Linked DNA regions of Homo sapiens: regions 1, 3 and 4 are each linked to region 2. Evidence: promoter capture Hi-C in human tissues and cell types (Jung and others, 2019). All regions are on one chromosome and are shown on one strand. Each heading gives the region's core, a stretch centred on a gene start or on the middle of the fragment in contact. The rest is flanking DNA. Distances are from core to core; before and after follow the strand shown.

Region 1 (5,118 bases), core at 2,582-5,081, 290 kb after region 2:
AATATTCCTTTGTCTTGATGTACCACAATTTATTTATCCGTTCACCCACTGAAAAACATCTTGGTTGCTTCCAAGTTTTAGCAATTATGAATATAGCTGCTATAAACATCCATATGCATTTTTTGTTTGTGTGTATGGATGAAAGTTTTCAATTTATTTGAGAAAATACCAGGGAGTGTGATTGCTGGATCATGTGCTAAAAGTATGCTTAGTTTTGTAAGAAACTGCCAAGTTATCTTTCAAAGTAGCTGTACCATTTTGTATCCTCACCAGTAATGAATAAGAGTTTCTGTTTTTCCACATGATTGCCAGCATTTTGTGTTGTCAGTGTTTTGGATTTTGGCAGTTATAACAGGTGCACAGTGGTACCTCATTGTTGTTTTAATTTGCAATTCCTTAATAATATATGATGTTGAGCATCTTTTCATTTGCTTACTAACCATTTGTGTATCTTCTTTGGTGAATTGGCTGTAAAAGTCTTTTGTCCATTTTTAAATTGAGTTGTTCATTTTGTTATTGGTGAGTTTTAAGAGTTCTTTGTATATTTTGGATAACACTCCTTTATCAAATGTGTCTTTTGCAAATATTTTCTCTCAGCCTGTGGCTTGTTTTATCATTCTCTTGACAGTGTCTTTTGCAGAGTGGAATTTTTAATTTTAATGAATTCTAGCTATCAATTATTTATTTCATGGGTTGTGCCTTTGGTATTGCATCTAAAATGACATCTCCATACACAAAGGTCATCTAGATTTTCTCCTATGTTATCTTCCAGAAGTGCTATAATTTTGCATTTTGCATGTGAATGTCCAGTTGTCCGAGCCATTTGTTGAAAATGCTATCTTTGCTCTATTGTATTGCCTTTGCTCTTTTCTCAAAGATCAGTTGACAAACTGATCTTTATGTGGGCCAATTTCTTGGCTTTTGGGGTCATTTTCTTGGCTTTATGTGGGCCTATATGCCAGCTTTCTATTCTGTTCCACTCATCTACCTGTATATTATTTCATTGGTAACACATTGTCATGATTACTGTAGTAATATAAACATGAAATATAAAGATATTAAGTCTGATGTTGGGCAGTGTCAATCCTCTTACTTTGTTCTCCTTCAATATTGAGTTGGTTATTGTGGGTCTTTCTCCTTTTCATACAAACTTTAGAATTAGTGTGTTAATATCCACAAAATAATTTGCTGAAATTTTGATTGGGATTGTGTTGAATTTATGGGTCAAGTTGAGAAGAACTAAAATTTTGACAATATGGAGTCTTCTTATACTTGAAGATAAAATATCTCTCTATTTTAAATTTTGTCTTGGGTATCTTTCATCAGAGTTTTTTGGTTTTCCTCACATAGATTTTGTATATATTTTGTTATATTTATACCTAAATATTTCATTTTTGGGGGTGCTAATGTGAATGGTAATGTATTTTTAATGTCAAATTCCACTCGTTTATTGCTGGTATATTGGAAAGTGATTGACTTTTGTATATTAATCTTGTATCCTACCATTTTGCTATAATCACTTATTCTAGGATTTTTTGTCAATTCATTAGATTTTCTACATAGAAAATTATATCATCTATAAATAAAGCCAGTTTATTTCTTCCTTCCTAAATTTGTATACCATTTTTTTCCTTTTCTCGTTTTATTGAATTATCCAGAACTTTCAACACAATGTTGAAAAGCAGTGGTGAGAAGGGACATTTTTGCTTGTTCTTGATCTTAGTGGGAAAGCTTTGAATTTCTTACTACTAGGTGTGATGATATCTATAGACATTTTGTAGATGCTCTTAATCAAGTTGAGAAAATTCGTCTCTATTCCAAGTTTGCTGACAGTTTTTATCATGAATGTTTGATTTTGTCAAATTATTTTTCTGTATCTAATAATATGATCATGTGATTTTTATTTTTTAGACTATTGATGTGCTAGATTATATTAAATGATTTTTGAATGTTGAACCAATCTTGTGTACCTAGGATAAAACTTATGTGGTTGTGGTATAGAAGTATTTTTATACATTATTGGATTTCATTTGCAAATATTTTGTTGAGGATTGTTGCTTTTATATTCATCAGTGATATTGGTCTATAGTTTTCTTTGCTTGTAATGTCTTTGTTTGGTTTTGGTGTTAGGGTAATTCTGGCCCCATCAAATGAGTTAGAAGGTAGTCCCTCTGCTTCTATCTTTTGAAAGAGTTTTTTTTTCTTCCGTTGGAGCTGGTATTTATGTTTGTTTTTCCCCCACTCCCAAATCTCTCCTGGATATCCGGTTTTATGTTGATTTTTTTTTTTTTGAGATTTTAAAGAATTTGTGTAATTTCTTCCTTAAATTTTTGTTAGAATTTACCAGTGAACCCACCTGGGCCTGGTGCTCTCTGTGTTGAAAGGTTATTAATTATTTATACAATTTCTTTAATAGATATAGACTTATTCAGATGCTCTATTTCTTCTTTTGTGAATTTTAACAGATTGCATTTTTCAATAAATTGGTCCATTTTATTTAGGTTGTAACATTTATGGGCATAGTAATTATTTTATTATCCTTTTAATGTCCATGGGATATTTACTGAGGTCCCTAATTTCATTTTCATTTATTGATTTGTGTGTTCTCTCTCTTTCTTTTTTTTGCTTAGCCTGGCTAGAGGCTTATTGATTTTTATTGATCTTTTCAAAGAACCAGCTTTTGGTTTTACTGATATTTTTCTATTGATTTCCTGCTTTCAATTTTATTGATTTCTAGTAATAATAATAATAATAATTTTCTTCTGCTTATTTTGGATTTAGTTTGTTTTTCTTTTTCTAGTTTTCTTATGTGGAGACTTAGATCATTGACTTTACATATTTCTTCTTTTCTAATGTAATCATTCAATGCTAATATAATCATTCAATGCTACAAATTTCTCTCTACACAGTGCTTTCACTGAATCCCCCCAGTTTTTTAAATTGTATTTTCTATTTTATTTAGCTTAAAATATTTTGTTTATTTTTTCTTTTTTTGACAGAGTCTCACTCTGTTGTCCAGGCTGGAGTGCAGTGGCATGATCTTGGCTCACTGCAACCTTTACCTCCTGGGGTTAAGCAATTCTCCTGCCTCAGCCTCCTGAGTAGCTGGGACTACAGGCACGCACCACTACACCTGGCTAATTTTTGTATTTTTGGTAGAGACAGGGTTTCATCATGTTCGCCAGGCTGGTCTTGAACTTCTGGCCTCAAGTAATCCACCTGCCTTGGCCTCCCAAAGTGTTGGGATTACAGGTGTGAGCCACTGTGCCCAGCCAAAATATTTTAAAATTTTTATTAAGATTTTTTCTTTGACCCATATTATTTAGAAGTGTGTTGTTTAATCTTCAAGTATTTTTAGATTTTCTAGACATTCTTCTGTTATTGATTTCTAGTTTAATTCCATTGTGGTTTGAGGTATTATATGATTCTATTATATTAAATTTGCTAAGGTTTGTTTTATGGCCCCAAATGTAATCTATCTTTTGGATGCTTCTCGTGAACTTGAAGAATGTATATTCTGCTACTGTTGGATGAAATAGTCTATAGATGTCTGCTATATCCAGTTAATTGATGATGCTAGTGAGTTCAACTATGTTCTTACTGGCTTTCTGCCTGTTGGACCTATCCATTTTTGATAGAGGGATATTAAAGTCTGCAACTATAATAGTGGATTAATCTATTTATCCTTGCAGTTCTGTCAGTTTTTGCCTCATGTATTTTGATGCTTTGTTGTTGGGTGCATACACATTAAAGATTGTTATGTCTTCTTGAGAGTATTGACCCTTTTTTTAAATCATTATATAATGTTCTTCTTTATTCCTGATAACTTGTTTGCTCTGAAATCTGCTCTGTCTGAAATAAATATCGTTACTACATTTTTCTTTTGATTAGTAAGATCATGGTATATCTTTTTCCATTCGTTTAATCTATATGTGTCTTTATATTTAAAGGGGATTTCAGCTGGACAACAAATAGTTCATATAGTTGGTCCTTGTTTTTTGATTCCTCTGACAATTTTCTTTCTTTCTTTCTTTCTTTTTTTTTAAGAGTCTATTTCTGCCTCTCAGGCTGGAGTGCAGTAGTATAATCACAGCTCACTGTAACCTCTAATTCCTGGGCTCAAGCCATCCTCCTGCCTCAACCTCCCAAGTAGCTAGGACTCCAGGCATGTACTACTATGCTCAGCCAATTTTTAAAGTTTTTTTGTAGAGACAGGGCTTTGGTATGTTACCCAGGCTAGTCTTGAGCTCCTGGTTTCAAGTGATTCTCCCACCACAGCCTCCCAAAGTGCTGGAATTACTGGCATGAGCCATTGCACCTGGCCAACAATCTGTATCTTTTAATTTGTGCATTAGGCCACTGACGTTTATGGTGATGATTGATATAGTTCAATTAACACCTGCTACATTTGTTACTGTTTTCTATTTGTTGCCCTTATTCTTTCTTCCCATTTTTTCCACTTCTTTTATGCATTTTGTGGTTTTAAAGGAGCATTTTATATGATTCAATCTTCTCTCCTTTCTTATCAATTATACTCATTTTTTAAAAGCTTTTTTTTTTTTAAAGTGGGTGCTCTAGAGTTTGCAATACATGTTTACAACTAATTCTACTTCACTTTCAGATAACACTATAACACTTCATGGGTACTGTGAGTACCTTACGATAACAAAGTATTCCTAATTCCTTCCTCAGCCCTGTTTCTTGTGTCTTCACTGCCATTCACTTACACACACACGCGCGCGCGCGCACGCACACACAGACATATATAATCAAATACATTGTTACTGTTATTTTGAACATGTTATTATCTGTTAGATCTATTAAGAATAAAAAAAGTAAATGTTTTTATTTTACCTTTATTTCTTCAGGTACTGGTTGCTGTGAAGGTTTCTGCTCTGCTAAGTTGTGATTCTCTGTATCTGCCTGTCTGTCTCCAGTTTTTGGGGTGGTGGTTTTCCCTGTGACCTCCCTTCTCTGATAGATCTAAGAAGAGTTGTTGATGTTCCTGTTTGTTTAGCTCTTCACTTTTTGGGTTGCAGTGAAGACTTGTTAGCTGCTTACATGCCAGATTAGAAACTGGAAGTCTGTGTATTTTCATAAAAGGGATACAATACATAA
Region 2 (5,046 bases), core at 104-2,603:
GTATGACTCAATTTGAAAATATGAGAACAAATAGATTTAAATAGGAACACCCAGTAAACTATGGTATGCAAATAAACTCAGAGGTAAACTTGTGAATACATAAATCTAAATAAGTCAGTTACCATCAAAATATTACGTGATCCTATATTTTTCTGTCCACGTCTTAAAAGTATTTTTTACCTTGGGGCTTTATTTTCTTTCCCTCTTCCCAAGATTATCCAAGGCAGTTCCAATACGCGTTTTCAATAATGGTAATTAAACTTTTGGAGGGTAATCGCCAGCTGTTTCCAGAAAAATACTTTTAATAGGTGGTAGTCCTCCCTGTAACTGGTTTTCCCTGTAATCCTTTTGTGCACATTGTAAAAATAACCCCCATGAACGTGCCACCAAGGGGACAATGAAGAGAAACAGGTTCTCGGCCCAGAGTTGTGAAGAAGATTTTGGTCGCACTAGCGCCACCCAGCGGTTTTAGAGAAGGAGCACACTTCTCCCCAAATAGGGCTTTTGAAGAACAAGTTTTACAAAATTTAGAAATCGTTTCATTATTGAGACACCCAACTTGGCGGCAGAGCGCTTTAATCAGAAGACGTCTGCGAATTAAACGGTGGGACGAAGAGGTCGCCTTGTGGGTATGCTCCGGCTTTCTCAGAGTTGCTTCCAACTCGCACCGGCGCTCGCCCGCCCGCTGCACCCCGGGCCCGGCTCCTGCTCCCGCTCGCTGCTGGGAAGAGGCAAGCGCTTCCTAGAGCCGCTGTTTTCAAAGCCCGGAGTTTCCTAAAACTCCCTCTCCGGCTGCGAGAGTCGGGACAGAGCAGGGCAGCAGGTCCCGCTTCCAGGCCCGGCCAAGGCCCGGCCGGGGCCACACCGGCGGGCGGGCAGCGGTGGCACCGAGAAGGCGCCCCCGGCCCGCCTGCCTGCCTTGCCTGGCGCCCACCGCTCCCCGGCCTCCCCCGGCACGGGCTCCAGCGGCGCCCCACCGGCCGCCCGCCTCGCCTTGCCTCTCACCTCCTGCGTGTCTGCGTAGTAGCTGTTCCAGTCGCTGGTTTCATGCCCTTCCATCTTCACAGTTCCTAACATCCTGGAGCCACCCTGCCCAATACAACCATCCAGCCCTGTGCGAAGCGACGGGCGGCCGCGCGGCGCGGGGCGGGGGAGGGGAGCTGAGCAGCTGCAGTCACCCGAGCGCCCGCGCGGGCCCAACGCCACCCGGGCGAAGAGGAAGCCCAGAGCTGCGGGGCGCGGCGTGCGCGGCGGCGGCGGCGGCGCGGCGGGCGGGGGCAGCGCCGGGGGCAGGCGGCTGCCGCGGAGCGCGGCGCCGGGGAGCGCCTCCGCGGGAAGTGAGCGGGCTGCCTCTGCGAGGCAAGTGCAGTTGAGCTGATGTGGATCTTACGTCGCTTGAGTGCCCACCTCCTCGTCCTCTCCCCATTTGTCCGCCGCACAAAGACGCTCGCACCTACAAAGCCCGAGGTGCACCTGCAAGGCGGCCGCCCGCCAGTCCGGCCGCCGCGCCTCCCGCCCCGCCGCTTCACCGCTGCGCGCGACCCCTCCCCCGCGACCCCTCCCCCAAGCGGGGCCCTCACTTTGTTTGCAAAGCAGTGTAATTGGTTTAGGCCCGGAGGCTAGGGAAAGAGGGAAATGGGGAGGGAGGGGGTGTAACCCCCTTTGGAAAAAGAAAAAATAGGCGGGGCCAGGCGGGCGGGCGGGCTAGGGCTCTGGATCGGAACCTCGCAGCCGGAGAAGGCCGGGGGCGGTGGCGTCGGAGACTGGGCTTAGAGACCTTGTGGGATAACTGACCCCGGGGTCCCTCCCCAGAGGTACACGCCACCTTCCGAGCGCGGGCTGCGGCCCAGTCTCGCGCCCCTCCTGCTCTTTGCTTCCTCCCTCCTGATTCCTGACCCAAAGTTCAACCCCGGGAGACTGGAGAATACAGACTTTTTTTTTTCTTTCCTCCTGAGAGCTTCAGACTAGAAAAGGGAAAAAGCCCCACTTTTGCTTCGTCACTAGAAACCGGGTCATCTGAGTCAGCCGAGCCAAGTGACGTTAGGCCGACCCGGGCCCCGGGCTAGCAGAGCGGAGGCGCTGCCACGAAACTCGTACCTGCGGCTAAGAGCAGGTGAGTCACAGCACCGGTTTATATCTTTATGACATAACTTTTTTTTTTTGTTCCGCCTCGGTCCGCTCCTCTCCCCTTGTCATCTGTAGCGACCACAAAGAGGAAGAAACTGAGAGCAGATGTCTGTGTGATAGGGCAGGCGGACCCAAGTCGGGCCGTCCTCCCCCTGCCGGGCTCCTCCTCCCGCCCCCCTTCAGCCGCTTCAGGGAGTGAGCTGGAGACGACCGTCTGGTTTCTGATAGGAAAAGGTCAGGGGGAGGGGACATCTCCCATAACACGCGCGTTAGCTGGGAGAGCAAGGGCCTGGGCGCGGGAACGCATCTGCACTGCGAAAGAGATGCCAGGCAGAAGCCCGAGACTGCCCGCAGCGGCGCTTGGTCCTGTCTGTGACCCGGAGGGTCCGGGCTGAGATCTCAGGGGCTCGCTTGGTTCCTAATCGGTCCTGGACGTCGGTGGGAGAGTCTTCCCAACGCAAAGTCTCTTTACTCTCATGAGGCCCTGGGTGGTGGTTGCCCACTTGTCCTGGGAGAGAGAACAACTGAAGTGACCGGGTGATAGGCAATTAGTTGGTGATAGATTGGGAGATGGTGCGTGTGTTTTGAGTGTGTGACCGTTTGTATATTTCTGAGCATGTGTGACTGTGTGTGTTTCTGAGTGTCTGTGACCATGTGTTTGTTGTACTGCCTGTAGAACCACTAGGTTTCCTTAAGTAACAATAAAATAAAATCTAAAGTAATTAAGAATCCGCAAAATCTTCTTGTTTTGCAAAGTTTTTAAAATGTTATTAATCTCATTTTAAGAAATGTGTTTTAACTTGTCTTCCAAACAGATACCTTTTTCCCTGTGCTTTGTTCTTTTAAATCTCTTTTACTTGAAATCTGGCAAGAGAATCACTTTAAATCCCTGAACCAAACAAATCTCTTAAGTCAGCAGGGGAGCAGAGAGGGTGAAGATGTGCAGTTAAGGAAATAAAAAAAGATAAAAGCATTGGATTACATTTTTTTTTTTTTTTTTTACAAAAAGGGTGGGGGGGTAGAAACGTCACATCATAAGGAAAGGAATGAGTGAAATTAAATCCACCTGGAACTCAGTAGGGCAGGAACCCTCCCTAATGCAGCCTGCTCCTGTGACTGCAAGTTGTCCCATCAGTTTGTGTAAATGTATCTGCGAATTGTGTGTCAGAAACTAATTCTTTTGTGCAAAGTTCCCATTAGTAGCTGACTTTAGTTCCATTTGTAAAGTATACGGATGCTTAGCTTCCTGGGCCTGATCCGGGGGACTTTCAGTGCTAATGAGCTTCCTTGTTCCTTCTGGAGGTGATTCTCCAATACCCTCTTGGCTCTTCAATAACACCGAGCAAGACTAGGTTATTTTCTACCGAGAGTAACAATTTATGGATAGTAATAGCTTTTATAGTGCACAAAAAAGTTGGCGCTTTAAGTAGGGGAAAAACACTGTCACCTTAAAGGGGGGGTCAATTACAATATCAAATGTTCTTTTAGCCCACTTCCCAAACCTACTAAGTCTCATATTTTCAAAAAAAAAAAATTGACTTAAGAAAAAAAAATCCACTTTTCATAGCGTGATGGCCGAAGCGGAATTTCTCCTAGGCTTCTTCAAAGCCCAAGACCGGTGATGCAGAATGGACTCTGCCAGCTTCGGAGACTTGATCCAGGTCAGGGATCCCAGGTTCGCAGCCGGGGGATTTCCACGAAAACAGCGCCTCCTGTCGTGGAGAGGGAAAGCTGAATTTTCCCGCAGGCGCCTCCGGGGAGCACCGCCAGGCGATACTGGATTGAACTCCGCACGCATCCCAGTCAGGGATTTAGGTTCTTAGAGCCGAGGCCAAGATGGAAGGAGAGATGGCCGTTCGTCCAGCTCCCAGCCTCTCTCCATCTCAGTGGCCGCATTGCAAGATACCTAACAAATTTAGGAGGTGAGGTTCTAGTGTACCCAGATGCCAGCCAGTCACTTTCCCTGAGGTTTAAAAGCGAATCAGCAGGGTCGTGTTGGGTCTTTGACTTGGAAATGCATACATACATACATAAAGTAATGCTGCTGTCTGGGAGTTGCTGGCCAGTCGGTAGCCAGGTCCAGCGGCTGCAGCCTGCTCTTTTCCAACCTCTTTTCCCAAATAGGCACCTACACCATTGGAAACTGTGCTTTGCAAGGATTGTGCTGCTCGTTGGAGGAAACCAGGCCTGTCTTCAGCTGTGGGGAGGATGGGTGGACTCGGGGCAGGGTACCCGCGAGGGCAGGCACGTGGCGGCTCCTGCGGTGTCCCGGGTTAAACTTGCCTGTGTTTAAGACGGGTCTGCGACAGCTTGGGGCGGTCCAGGTCGCGGGGAGGGCGGGCTCCTCAAGTGGGGGATCCGCGGCAGTGAGGACTGTAGGGTGCGCGGGTACTCCGGGTAGCCGCCAGCGGAGGAAGCGGCTCCGCCCTTCCCGGAAGCTGCCCTTGCTACACCCGTGGGGCCTGCTCCCGGCGCAGTCCCGCAGTACCTGAGCGGCACTCGGTCCTTTGACCACGCTTGGCTGCCTCAGCTTACACTTCCCAGCAGGATCTGGCTGGGAGCCCCTTCCTCAGATATTCACCAGGCAGGTAGAAGCAGAGGGAGACGACGGCGAAAGGTGGAAGGAGAGGCCGCGGCCTCGGGCCTCGGGCCCCGGGCCCAGACGGCGGCCTCTCGCGGCGACAGGGTCCTTCCTATTTAGCAGGACCGCAGGGTTGGCAGACAGCAGGGCCTGGGCCGGCGGGGCTCTGCGGTGCCCATTCGAGTCTCTCCAGGGCTTCCCTCTGTGGCTGTCCCTCGCCTGCCCCCTTTCCTTGCCTACCCTTCCCTGGACGGGGTTGTTGTCAGGTGACGGCTTCAGCAACCCAGCCATGCTTGGTGTGGAGTGGTTCGAGTTCCTCCGCGGGCCCCCACCCCCCA
Region 3 (5,504 bases), core at 2,857-5,356, 270 kb before region 2:
CAAAGTGCTGGGATTACAGGTGTGAGCCACCATGCCCAGCCAGAAATTGTTTCTAAAAGATGAGCGTAGTCAGTTCCCTTGAGTGGTGTGAATTCAAGCAAAGTGAAGATAGATTTGATCACATGGATGATGTTGAGGGCTTTGACAGGAGTTCCGTCCAGGACAGAGGCAACGTTGGAGTGTTTGAGGAGAAAATGGAAATAGAGGAAGTGCAGACAGTGAATACAACTTTTTTTCCCCCTCCTGTAATGTAGGCAGAAAAATTGGCATTAGATGGAGAGAGGGCTTATGGTATCTTGGGAGGTTTTTTTTTTTTTCCTTTCTTTTTTTAATGGGATGTTCTAGCACATGTGGTTGTTGTATTGATAAAAATGAACCAGGAAAAAGGAAAAGTGATGTTTTCAGGGATAAAAAAGATAATTGCAGCCTGTAATCCCAGCACTTTAGGAGGGCAAGGCGGGTGGATGACCTGAATTCCGGAGTTTGAGGCCAGCCTGGCCAACATGGTGAAACCTTGTCTCTACTAAAAAATACAAAAATTAGCTGGGCGCAGTGGCAGGCACCTATAATCCCAGCTACTTGGGAGGCTGAGGCAGGAGAATCGCTTGAACCCAGGAGGCGGAGGTTGCAGTGAGCCGAGATTGTGTCATTGCACTCCAGCCTGGGAGACAGAGCAAGACTCCATCTAAACAAACAAACAAACAAACAAACAAAGATAATTGCAGTACCAAGTCCTGGAGTAGATGAGTAAATTGATAGGAAATAGGTTCTAGAACATAAGTATAAGAATTGGCTTTTGTTAGGAACAGGGAAACTACTTTCATTTTAACAGATGTATGCAAAGCATTTGGATAGATACAGATGCTGGCAAGTTGATAAATTTAGTAAAGGGAAGTTGGGGGTGCAGTGTCATTATTAAAATGTTAGATTAATTTAGATTTTCAGTGGATTAGTGGATGGTGCTGAAGATTTAAAATGTGGAGACAGTTTGAAATCATTGTCTTTGTTTCTATATAAATGAACATAACTAGAGAAATGTAGGATTGCCAGGCAGAGCTGAATGCACATTTAAGAATTAGGGTAGTTAAATTTTTAAAAACGTGTCAGGGAAGTTGTGTGATTTCCTTTAGCAGTATTCCAATCTCGAGTGTGGTGTGAGTAGTGTGGTGTAGTAGATATTTGATTTTAACTAAGACTGAGATTTTAATGGGTGAGGGACCAGAGAGTTATTACAGCAATGAATTCCAGACTCTCCCTCACTGTGGACTCTCCCTTATGTAAAGAGGAAGAGGAGTGATGAGGCACATAGAAAGAAACTGAGGAGAGTGTGGTATCACAGAAGGCAAGGTCCCGGATAGTAAAAAACTGGTAAGTCCATGTATTAGAATTCTTGGTTTGTCAAGTAATTGTGCTATAGTGATTTGCAGTCAAGAGAAAAAGGCACTAGAAATAAAGATTTCGAATATAGCAATTATTAAGGTTAGTGATTTCCAGATATTTTTCTGTGTAATTTTTATGTGGTTGTATAGGAAAAAATCCCTAAATGATACATATTTTATCACACAGTCAGTAAGCCAGATTCAGAAGTGGTTAAAAAGAGGAAGCATATCTAAGGAAAAGTATGAATAATTTAAAACTTGCAAACAATTTCCTCCTTGTTGTAACAAGTATAGAAATTAAGGTCTGAGAAGATAATATAATGACACATATTTCAAGATTCAGAAATGGGTGCTAGAACTTTCCTAGCCTGGTTATGAATTCCTCATTTGGCGTCTGCATGACCAGCAGTCACTGTGATAAAGCAGATTGAGATTAGGGAGTGCAGCATAAGCTAACAAACCCACTTGATGAGCATACCTAGAATCCTGGTCAATGATGTAACCTTCAAGGTTATCTTTTCACTTTAGCAGAGGAAATAATCAAATATCCTAGTGTCTTAACCTCTCCTTTTTTAGTGTTGCCTTTACTTTGTGCTTCTTATAATTAGCATAGTGTCTAGCATGTAATAGATACAAAATAATGATGTTTAAAATATTAGAAATTTGACAAAAAGGTTATACTCGAAAGGAAAATAAAGCATAACATTTAGAGTTATGTTTTTCAGGAAAAGTAGGGAACATATTTGATATTCTTAATTACAGTGGCTGTAAGATTTTCATTAATTTTTTCCCTTGTCAGTTTGTTAATTTGCTTTCCTATCATACAATTATTTGCTTATGCATGTTTTTCAGTCAGTCTTGCTAAAATATATTGTTGATAGTTCATCTGTTGTAATTACTTTTTTCTTACTGTGAAATTTTTACAACTTCTTGAAAGTATATATAACTTTAGAAAGTACAGATAAGCAAAAAGAAGGAAAAAATTGCCCCCAAGCTCACTTCCTAGAAAGTTATATGTAGATTGTCTTTTTTCAATACATATTGTATTGTATATACTACTTTGTAGCCTGATTTTTCACATTGATTTGACATTTTGTTAGACATTCTCATAATTTTACTTCATTTTATTTATTTATTTATTTATTTATTTATTTATTTAGTTAGTTAGTTAGTTAGTTAAGACAGAGTCTCATTCTGTTACCCAGGCTGGAATACAGTGGTGTGATCATGGCCGTGGTTCAGCTCACTGCAGCCTTGACGTCCCAGGCTCAGGTGATCCTCCAACCTCAGCCTCCAGGGAGCTGGGACAACAGGCACACACTACCATGCTAGTCTGATTTTTTTGTATTTTTTGTAGAGACGGGGTTTCACCATGTTGCCCAGGCTGGTCTTGAACTCCTGGGCTCAAGCGATCTACCTGCTTCTGCCTTCCAAAGTGCTGAGATTACAGGCATGAGTCACTGCACCTGGTCTCATGCTTTGATAATGTGGACATGTTAAGATTTGTTTAACTCACCTGCCATTGAGAGTTTTGAGAATGGGAACATTTTTGTAACTAAATTTTTATGTACATCCATGTTTCTTTCTTCAAGGAAAATTCCCAGGAATGAAAAGGACAGACCAAAGAATACAAACATTTAAAAATAAATATATATTTCTAAATAGCCTTCTTAGAAAAGTTGTACCTAGAAATGTTATTTGAAATTTCATTTGGGGACTTTAAGCAGATAAAATGCTAAGAAATGTAGACTTAATTCTCTAGGCAATGTGAAACTTGCAGTTTTTGAGTTTTCTGATAATGCAGAAAGTGCTACTCTTGAGGAAGATTTCTGGGCAAGACTTTATCAAGTGCCTTGAGTAATATGAACATAAGTCTGAGGAGACCAATGATTATGGGAACCTATTATAATTGAGGCAAGAGGTGATGAGGTTCTAAACAAGAAAAACAAGGAGAGGAATAGATTTGAAAGCTATGGAAGCTTCTATTTTTGTAAATGAGGGTATAACTTGAAGGGAAGTAATCTCAAGTGAAGGATTTGATGAATTTTTATATATGTGTGTTCCCTTGAAAGCAGCATCCTGATCAAGATATGGAACACTGCTAGTACTCCAGGAGGCTCTTTCTTGTCTCTTCCCAGTCGGAATTTCTCACCAAAGATAATCACTCCTCTTATTTCTGTCTCCATGGGTCATTTTGCATGTTTTAAAACTTCATATAAAAGGAGTCATATGTTATATACTCCTTGTGTCTAATTTCTGTCACCCAGTGTTAACTACTGTATGTTGATCTGTATTGTTAATAATTATTAATAATGTGTCTTTTTCATTGTGGTGTGATGTTCCCTTGTGTGAATATGCCATGATTTATTTGCATATTAAACATGTTAAACAGATGACAGAAATTTAGATTGTTTTCATTTTTAACCTATTATGCATGAAGTATTATAGAGATTCTTGAACATATCTTTTGGCGGGCCTTAGCATTTATTTATTTTGATACATATACAGGCACATACAAAAGAAAAGAATAGTTGAGTCATAGGTTTAGCTTTATTAGGTAATGCCAAATGTTTTTCCAAAGTTGTGCCAGTTTACAGCAGCAATGTAAGTGAGTTGTTCCAGCTGTGAGAGTTAATACTTGGTATCATTACTGATTTTAATATCAATCATTCTGATGGGTGTATAGTCATATTTCATTGTTGATTTATTTGTATTTTGTGTTTCCCTAATGACTAATGATGTTGGTAGCTTTTTATATGTTTTTTGACCATTTTGATATCTTCTTTTGTGAAATATCTCTTCGAGGCTATTGTCCATTATTAAATTTTGTTGTTTTTCTTATTGATTTATGTAATTTATATATATTTATACAGTCTGTGGCTTGCATTTTTATTCTCTTAATGCTGTCTTTTGATGGCAATAATTCTTAATTTTAATGTAGTCTAATTTATCATTTTTTTCTCCTTATGGTTAATGCATTTTGTATCCTGTTTCAGAAACCCTTGCCATTCCCATAGCACTGAACATGTTCTACTGTGCTTTCTTCTAGAAGCTTGATTATTTTAGCTTTCACATTTAGGTCCTGATCAGTTTCAAAATACTTTTTATATTGTCAAAGTCATTTATTTTCTTCATATAGATGCCTAGTCAACTTGTCTCAGCATCATGCAATTAATGAATTGTGTCTCCCCATCCTCCCAACAACGAATTGCAGTAGAGCCCATGTAATGACTTAGGTTATTGTGTGGATCTGTTTCTGGACTCTGTTCTGTTCCATTGTTGTAGGTTTTTATCCCTGCAATAATACTCCATGGTCTTAATTTCTGTAGCATTATAGTAAGTCTTAATTTGTGATAGTGTAAGGATCCAGCTGTCAAATGTTCTTCAGTATTTCTGCAGCTATTCTCAGTTCTTCATTCAGCTTGTTATTCTTCAAGCTGGTAGTATTTAATGGGGATTGCATGGCCTCTAAAGAATAGTTAAAGCAAGATTGGCATCTTAGCAATATTGAGTCTTCCAAATGATTGATCTTTTCATGAAAATGATTACTTTTTTCTTTATATACTGCTTTGCATCCCATAAATTTTTGATATGCCATTTCTCATTATTATATATGTGTCTCATTATTATATATGTTGAAATATTTTTTAGTTTCTAATTTTGTTTTCTTCTTTGACCCATGAATTATTTAAAAATATGTTGCTTAATATTAAAACATTAGGAAATTCTGAAGCTATCTTTCTGTCACTGAGTTGGAATTTAATTCCCTGGTGGTGAGAAAATATAAGCTATACTATTTCAATCCTTAGAAATTTTTTGATACTTGCCCTGTGACCCTAAATAGGCCCTGTTTCTTAGACAATTCATGAAGTTTGTATATTCTGTAGTTGTTGAGTGTAGTATTGTCTCCGTATGTTATTTAGACCAAATAGGTTAATCGTGTTGTCCAGTTGTTGTGCATAGATGTATTGTTCGTATGTTGTGTCAGTTATCAAGAGAGATGTTTAAAGTATTCAATGATTATGATTAATTTTTCTCCTTTTAATTCTGTGAATTTTCATTTTATTTATTTTGAAGCCATTTTATTATGTACTAAGGTCTTTACGATTACTGTATCTTCCTATA
Region 4 (5,704 bases), core at 616-3,115, 260 kb after region 2:
GGGGAATTTCACTTTCTTTTTCTTCTTTCTTTCCTCAACAAAATCCCAATAATTTCTAAATCAATAATGGAGCGGCCAGCTCATAGTAGGCATTTGATGTGTGTCTGTTGAAATTTGTATTTGGGGAAAAATTTTGATCCTTTAAAAAAGAAAGGTTTTAAAATGCAGACATGGGTTTCAGCAAATCGCAACAAAAAGTCAATGCTAACAGCCAGGATATGGAAGGTAGTTATGTATGTTTTATATCAGTAATAACTAACATGCCTTTTAGTCTTGTATTATTGTGCTTTAATGTTTAGAATAATAAACTTCTACATAAATGCATATAAGTATATAAGTTCCTTGATCTCCCTATATGTCAGTTTTCTGAATCGAAGCAAATTAGCAGTAAAATAAGGCTGTTTCCAGAGATGAAATAGTTCAAAAGACTAAGGCACTTCTTTTTTTTTTTTTTTTTGTAAAGTACGTATCTGGACTTAGGTTTAGAATTGCATGTCTGGAAAAACTATTCATAATCTGCTTTTCTCTCCTTTTCTTTTATTTTTGCCTGTATTTATTTTGGCCAGCTGGTGAGACAGATCTTTTTCAGGGCTCAGCCTTCCAGTCTGAGCGTGGTTCTCCAAAACCAATCTTTGGATTAAATTCCTGTTTTATTCTCTCTGGTGTCTGAACAGTGTTGATGTCAGGGGGCCATGGTGACCCAGTTGTCTGTCCCAAGTGGCTGGTGGCTTGCCAAGTAAAGAGCTTAACTAGGCGGCCACACACTGTTGCATAGTATTGCACCTTAACTAAGCGGCGGCCACACACTCTTGCACCTGGGGAAGGAGGTTGGGGTAGAATCCTTGGTCAATCTGTCTTACCTTTGTGTCTCTCATGTCAGTTGTCTTGTATGAAGGTAGACACAGAGGTCTCCTGATAAAATAAATGGTCCTTTACTCCCTTCCTAGTGTGGCTTTCACCTTGTCTCTAGTCTTGTCAGTACATCTGATGGGCTCACACAAAGATTGATCTGAGGAGGCTGGGGCTTAAAAGTTATCCTTGTCCTGAAAATATTCCATGGCTTTGATTCTGGGGGAAAATGGTAAAATTTGGTTCCATTCTCCGTATAATTTGTTCTAATACGGTTTGAAGATCTTTAGTTAAGTTTGGGCTCTAAGCATCACAGTCAGCCTGAGAAATGACCTTTCTTCTCAGAGGTTCTGGAATTCCAGACCTAGGCATCCCCTGACAAAATCAGATGGGGTGTATTGACTGGGAACCAATTTTCATTTGGGGTTGGGCAGGCTTAACAAGTGGCTAGTTCCCTTCTCTGTCAGCTGTAACACTGGCACATGAACACAGAAGATTTAAAGGGGTCTATACCTCACAGTACTATAACCTTGAATGTGAAGGTCTCAGCTGATGTTGTCACAAAACAGACAGGCTACAATTGAAACCCTTGAGCACCTCTCCCCTCCCTCTTATCCTCCCTCCGCCTCCTTCCTCCCTCCCTTCCTCCCTTTTTCCCTTACTCTCTTCCTCCCTCCCTCCTTTCCTTCCTCCCTTCCTCCTCTCCTCCCTTCTTCCCTGCCTCCCTTCCTTCCTCCCATGTGCTCACTACATACAAAATGGCCACTTTCAGCTTCCCCTGCTTGGGATCAATGAGGCAACCTGGTATGGTAGAAAGGCAACAGAAAGGTCTGGGTGTCAGAATGAGGCTTCGTAGTCATGTCTCTACTAGCTATGTGACTTCAGTTAACTGCTCTGAACCTATTTTCTTATCTGCAGCATAGGCCTTCAAGTCCCTTCTAGCCTTAAGGTCTATGGGTTTGATGGGAATAATATTACCTGCCTACCTGACTGAGTTGTTGTGGGAATTAAAGGAGATCATATTTATGAAACTACTCTTTAAACCCTCTACAAAAGATTAAGCAATATGATACTATTAATTCCCTCTGAAGAATCAAAATAGCTTGCAATTTACTTTTAATCTTCAAGATTGTGTACATATATCTTTTGTATTTAGACCTTTAATGATGTGTACCATAATGCAGGACAAATGAACAGACTAATCTCTCTCTCACTAGATGTTACTCCAAGTCACATTCTAAAGCAGTGGGTTGGAGGGAGGAACTATTTTTATTTTTTTGAAAACAGAGATAAAATTAATCCCAGGTACACAGGGTTCTGGACTTTTTTTTTCCTACTCCTTTCAAAGTTCTGAGAAGCAGTTTACTCTTTCACACTAGAGATTGCTTAAATAGAGCTGGGGACTCAACATTGTTGGGGAGGAATAAGCTGTAGTCCAGAAGTGCCCACAGCCAGGGAACCCAGTTAGAAGTGAGGGACGGTGAGTGGTGGCTGCAGGCAAGACACACTCAGAGCCCAAAGGGAAGTAATGGTAACCTTTGTACCTGGCTGTCACTGTTGAGACACAGCAGTAGCATTATATTAGGTCCTCTATCCTCTTGTGATAGTAAAAGAGTATTTTTTATAGTTCCAGTTCAAAGAGTGACAAAGAAACTAAAATGTCCCAAATATTTTAAATCTGTCTCTATCTATCTATCTATCTATCTATCTATCTATCTATCTATCTATCTATCTATCTATCTTATGTATGTACGTATCTATCTATCTAGTCTGTCCATCTATCTAGTCTGTCTGTCTGTCTACCTACCTACCTATTTGTCTACCTACCTAATTTGGATGTAGCTGAGAGTAGCATAGAAAAAAAATAAGACTACTCGAGGCTCTGAATTGTTCCATAATTGCGCATGCTTCTGAGTCATCTTTCCATCTAGATTGTATGTTCCTTGAGGGCAGGAACTATGTCTTAGGCTCTTTTCATGTCCCTCCCTTACCCTAATAGCATTGGACTCAGTCCTCAGCTCATCACAGGTGTTTGATAACTCCTATTGATGAAGAAGAGGTGGCTGGCAGACAGAAAGAGAGGGGAGGTGGGAACTCCCATTCTTCCTCTCGTTCTCTGTGTCCTTGAGTTTTGAGCTCATGGTTAAAGCTGAGAATTAAGCACTGCCCTTACAACTGCTAGGTAAGCTCAGTAAGGTGTTGCAAGGTGGTGCAAAGGGCCCTGGGAGGAGGGTCCCAGTTGCCCACCCTTTGTCCACTGCTTTGTGATGAATTCTAGATCACCTTGTGGTTACCTGCCTATTAGGAGGTGCTGTTGAAAAGCGACTTTAAAAAAATAGGACTTTGGGAGAGTGGGGCAGATCAAATGAAGGGACCAGCAGTGTTCATAATGGTGCTGAAATTTAATTTCAGTGCTGACCTTTTATTTGACATTTTAGATAATGCTATGGATGTGCTCAGCTATTTGTTCTTAACATATTTTCCATCTTTTGGGGGCACTAATCTACTTAAATTCAAAGTCAACAAAAGAATAGAGTAAATTTTTTGGCTTTACAAATCACCCTTTTGAAAAAAGAGTTCATTCACAATAGCAACAAAATATGCAACATGTATGAATTAAATGTTCACAACTATGAAAGAGTGTAAAACTATGAAGGGGCAAAAAAATTAGAAAGATCATGTTCTGAGGTGGGAACAGTGCTAATTATTATATGATTAATATATAGGTGCTAATTATTCCACATTAATATATGGAGTTTAAAATTCTATTAAAAATCTTAATGAGTTACATTTTTTAGAACTTGACAACAGAATTCAAAAGTCTGCCTAGACGAATAAATTGATCAGATTGAAAAATGCTTAAAAGCTTGAAAACACTAAAAACTAATGAGGCCGTGGAGTGATAGAAACCCTGCTTATAGGAAGGTAAATGTACAAGCACTTTGGAGAACAACTGGGCAATACCTACTATGAAGTTGAAGATGTATACATCCGACAGCCCAGCGAGTTACTCAAGAGATCTTTCCACATGTTTATGGAGATAGGAACAAGAATGTTTTACAGCAAAAGAAACTACATAAAACCTTTTATACAAGGCTATGGGCAAATAATTTAAACAATACATTTCATTCATACAATGGAATATTATAAAGCAGTGAAAATGAAGGAACTGGAGCTACATATATAAATTGCACAAACATTGAACAGCAACAAAAAATAGGAAACAGGATATTTTCATTTACTTATAAGAAGTTTTTTAAAAATGCTAAACAAGTGTATATATTGTTTAGAAATATGTGTGTAGTCAGGGTATAAATAAACTCGAGAAAGATAAATGTCAAGGACAGTGACAGGATAGTAAGAAGCTCTTTTTTACTGGGGGAAGTGATTTGGGAAGTGTACACAAAGACATCAACTGTACTGCTAATGCTGAGGAATGGAATTCTGATTAACAGAAAAAATAGAAAATCTTCAGTCTGATTCATATCATCTATAAATTTTGGCATGCAATTAAATGTAGGAAACAGTAAAAAGGGATGGAATTTTTGCTAAGTAGTGTTGGGACAACTGGATAGCTATTTGCAAAACACATAGGGAAAAACCATTACTTTATCACCATATAACAAAATAAATTTCAACTGGATTAAAGAAATTTACATGCCAAATTCATAAGAACAGTATAAAAAACTTTGAGAATATTTATATAATCTTGAGCACGCTAGATTTTAAAAACTTGACACCAAATCCAGAAATTAAAAAAGATAAAGGTGGATTGATTTGACCATGTACAAATTTATTTTTTTGTATCAAAATGCTACAAAAATAGTAAAAACAGATATTAAAAAGTTTACATTTGCAGCATATGTATAAAGAGTTGTCAAGAATGAAAAAGCCCAAATATCAAATATATGAATTTTCTGGTGAAGGCTATAACTGAAAAAGGAAGAAATCACATGAATAATATGCATTATAAAATTTTTAAAATCAGTAATTAAAGACAAATTAAACCATAACTTTCACCTAGCAAATTAGCAAATAATAAAACATAATCATAATATCCAGTGTTCAAGAAAATCACCTCCCATTCATTGCAGAAAGGATATTAAATTGGTCTTAGGATTTTCACAAGCTTTGTCAGTATTCATCAAAAACCTTTAAAATATGCCTCCTGTTTGACCTAAGAATTATACTTCTATAAATTTGTCCTAAGAAAACTAAAAATTTAAGCAAGTATTTAGATATGGTCATGCTTATCAAGTTCTGTTTTTAAAATTGAAACATTGGAAGCCATCTAAAGGTACAAAAGCATACAGGTTAATGAATTATGGAATATTTATAAAATGAAATGTTATTTCTCTAGTAAAAAGTACATTATCTCTGAATGGTGGAATTAAGATGTTTATTTTTCTTAATTTTGTTTATATATTTTAAAAATAATTTGCTAAAATAAAGATGTTTTCTATAATTTTGAAAAGACAAAAGCCTTACACTTAATTTTTAAGTCCCTCTTTTTATTGTTAAACTGTAAAGCAATTCTGAAGCTAAAAGCAAATATTCATGAACTGCTGTAAGAGCCATAGAAGCATTTTCTATAGATAGAGATTATTACGTTACAGTACAACTAATATATGTTGGCTAGATTTCATGGAGTAGTGACCACCATTACCATTTCATATTCTTAAGAAGCATGTGAAATATAGTATATTGAGTTTATTTCATGTTTAATGCCTCAAAATAAGACTCACAGTGTCTGTGTGCTACTATTATTAGTTTTACATAATTAGCAAGGAAAATAGCCCTATAGAAGATAAAGATATTTTGATGATGTTATAAGTTATTTGAGTAAATTAAGAAT

The links. Contacts are between HindIII fragments. The study calls those that stand out against the background at their distance.
Region 1: a contact is called between a fragment that was not itself captured here and the fragment with the promoter of FOXA1 in region 2, in 1 of the 25 tissues and cell types used here (mesendoderm cells).
Region 3: a contact is called between a fragment that was not itself captured here and the fragment with the promoter of FOXA1 in region 2, in 1 of the 25 tissues and cell types used here (H1 embryonic stem cells).
Region 4: a contact is called between a fragment that was not itself captured here and the fragment with the promoter of FOXA1 in region 2, in 2 of the 25 tissues and cell types used here (H1 embryonic stem cells and mesendoderm cells).

What each region holds. Positions count from the first base shown.
Region 1 is chr14:37,883,111-37,888,228 of GRCh38, forward strand. No RefSeq gene overlaps it. Among named protein-coding and RNA genes, the nearest start is that of LINC00517, 16 kb to the right of the region's middle. The HindIII fragment of the contact is 7,378 bases long and covers 143-5,118 here.
Region 2 is chr14:37,593,896-37,598,941 of GRCh38, forward strand. It overlaps FOXA1 (forkhead box A1), which reads right to left and starts at 1,354. Exons shown (of 2, transcript NM_004496.5): 1 at 1,006-1,354. The coding sequence starts at 1,077. TTC6 (tetratricopeptide repeat domain 6) reads left to right here and starts at 1,734. Exons shown (of 33, transcript NM_001310135.5): 1 at 1,734-2,113. RefSeq lists enhancers at 1,290-2,149, 1,663-2,862. The HindIII fragment of the contact is 7,361 bases long and covers 9-5,046 here.
Region 3 is chr14:37,316,290-37,321,793 of GRCh38, forward strand. The region is part of intron 9 of MIPOL1 (mirror-image polydactyly 1); the gene reads left to right. Among named protein-coding and RNA genes, the nearest start is that of MIPOL1, 120 kb to the left of the region's middle. The HindIII fragment of the contact is 5,880 bases long and covers 1,167-5,504 here.
Region 4 is chr14:37,856,554-37,862,257 of GRCh38, forward strand. No RefSeq gene overlaps it. Among named protein-coding and RNA genes, the nearest start is that of LINC00517, 43 kb to the right of the region's middle. The HindIII fragment of the contact is 4,961 bases long and covers 1-4,346 here.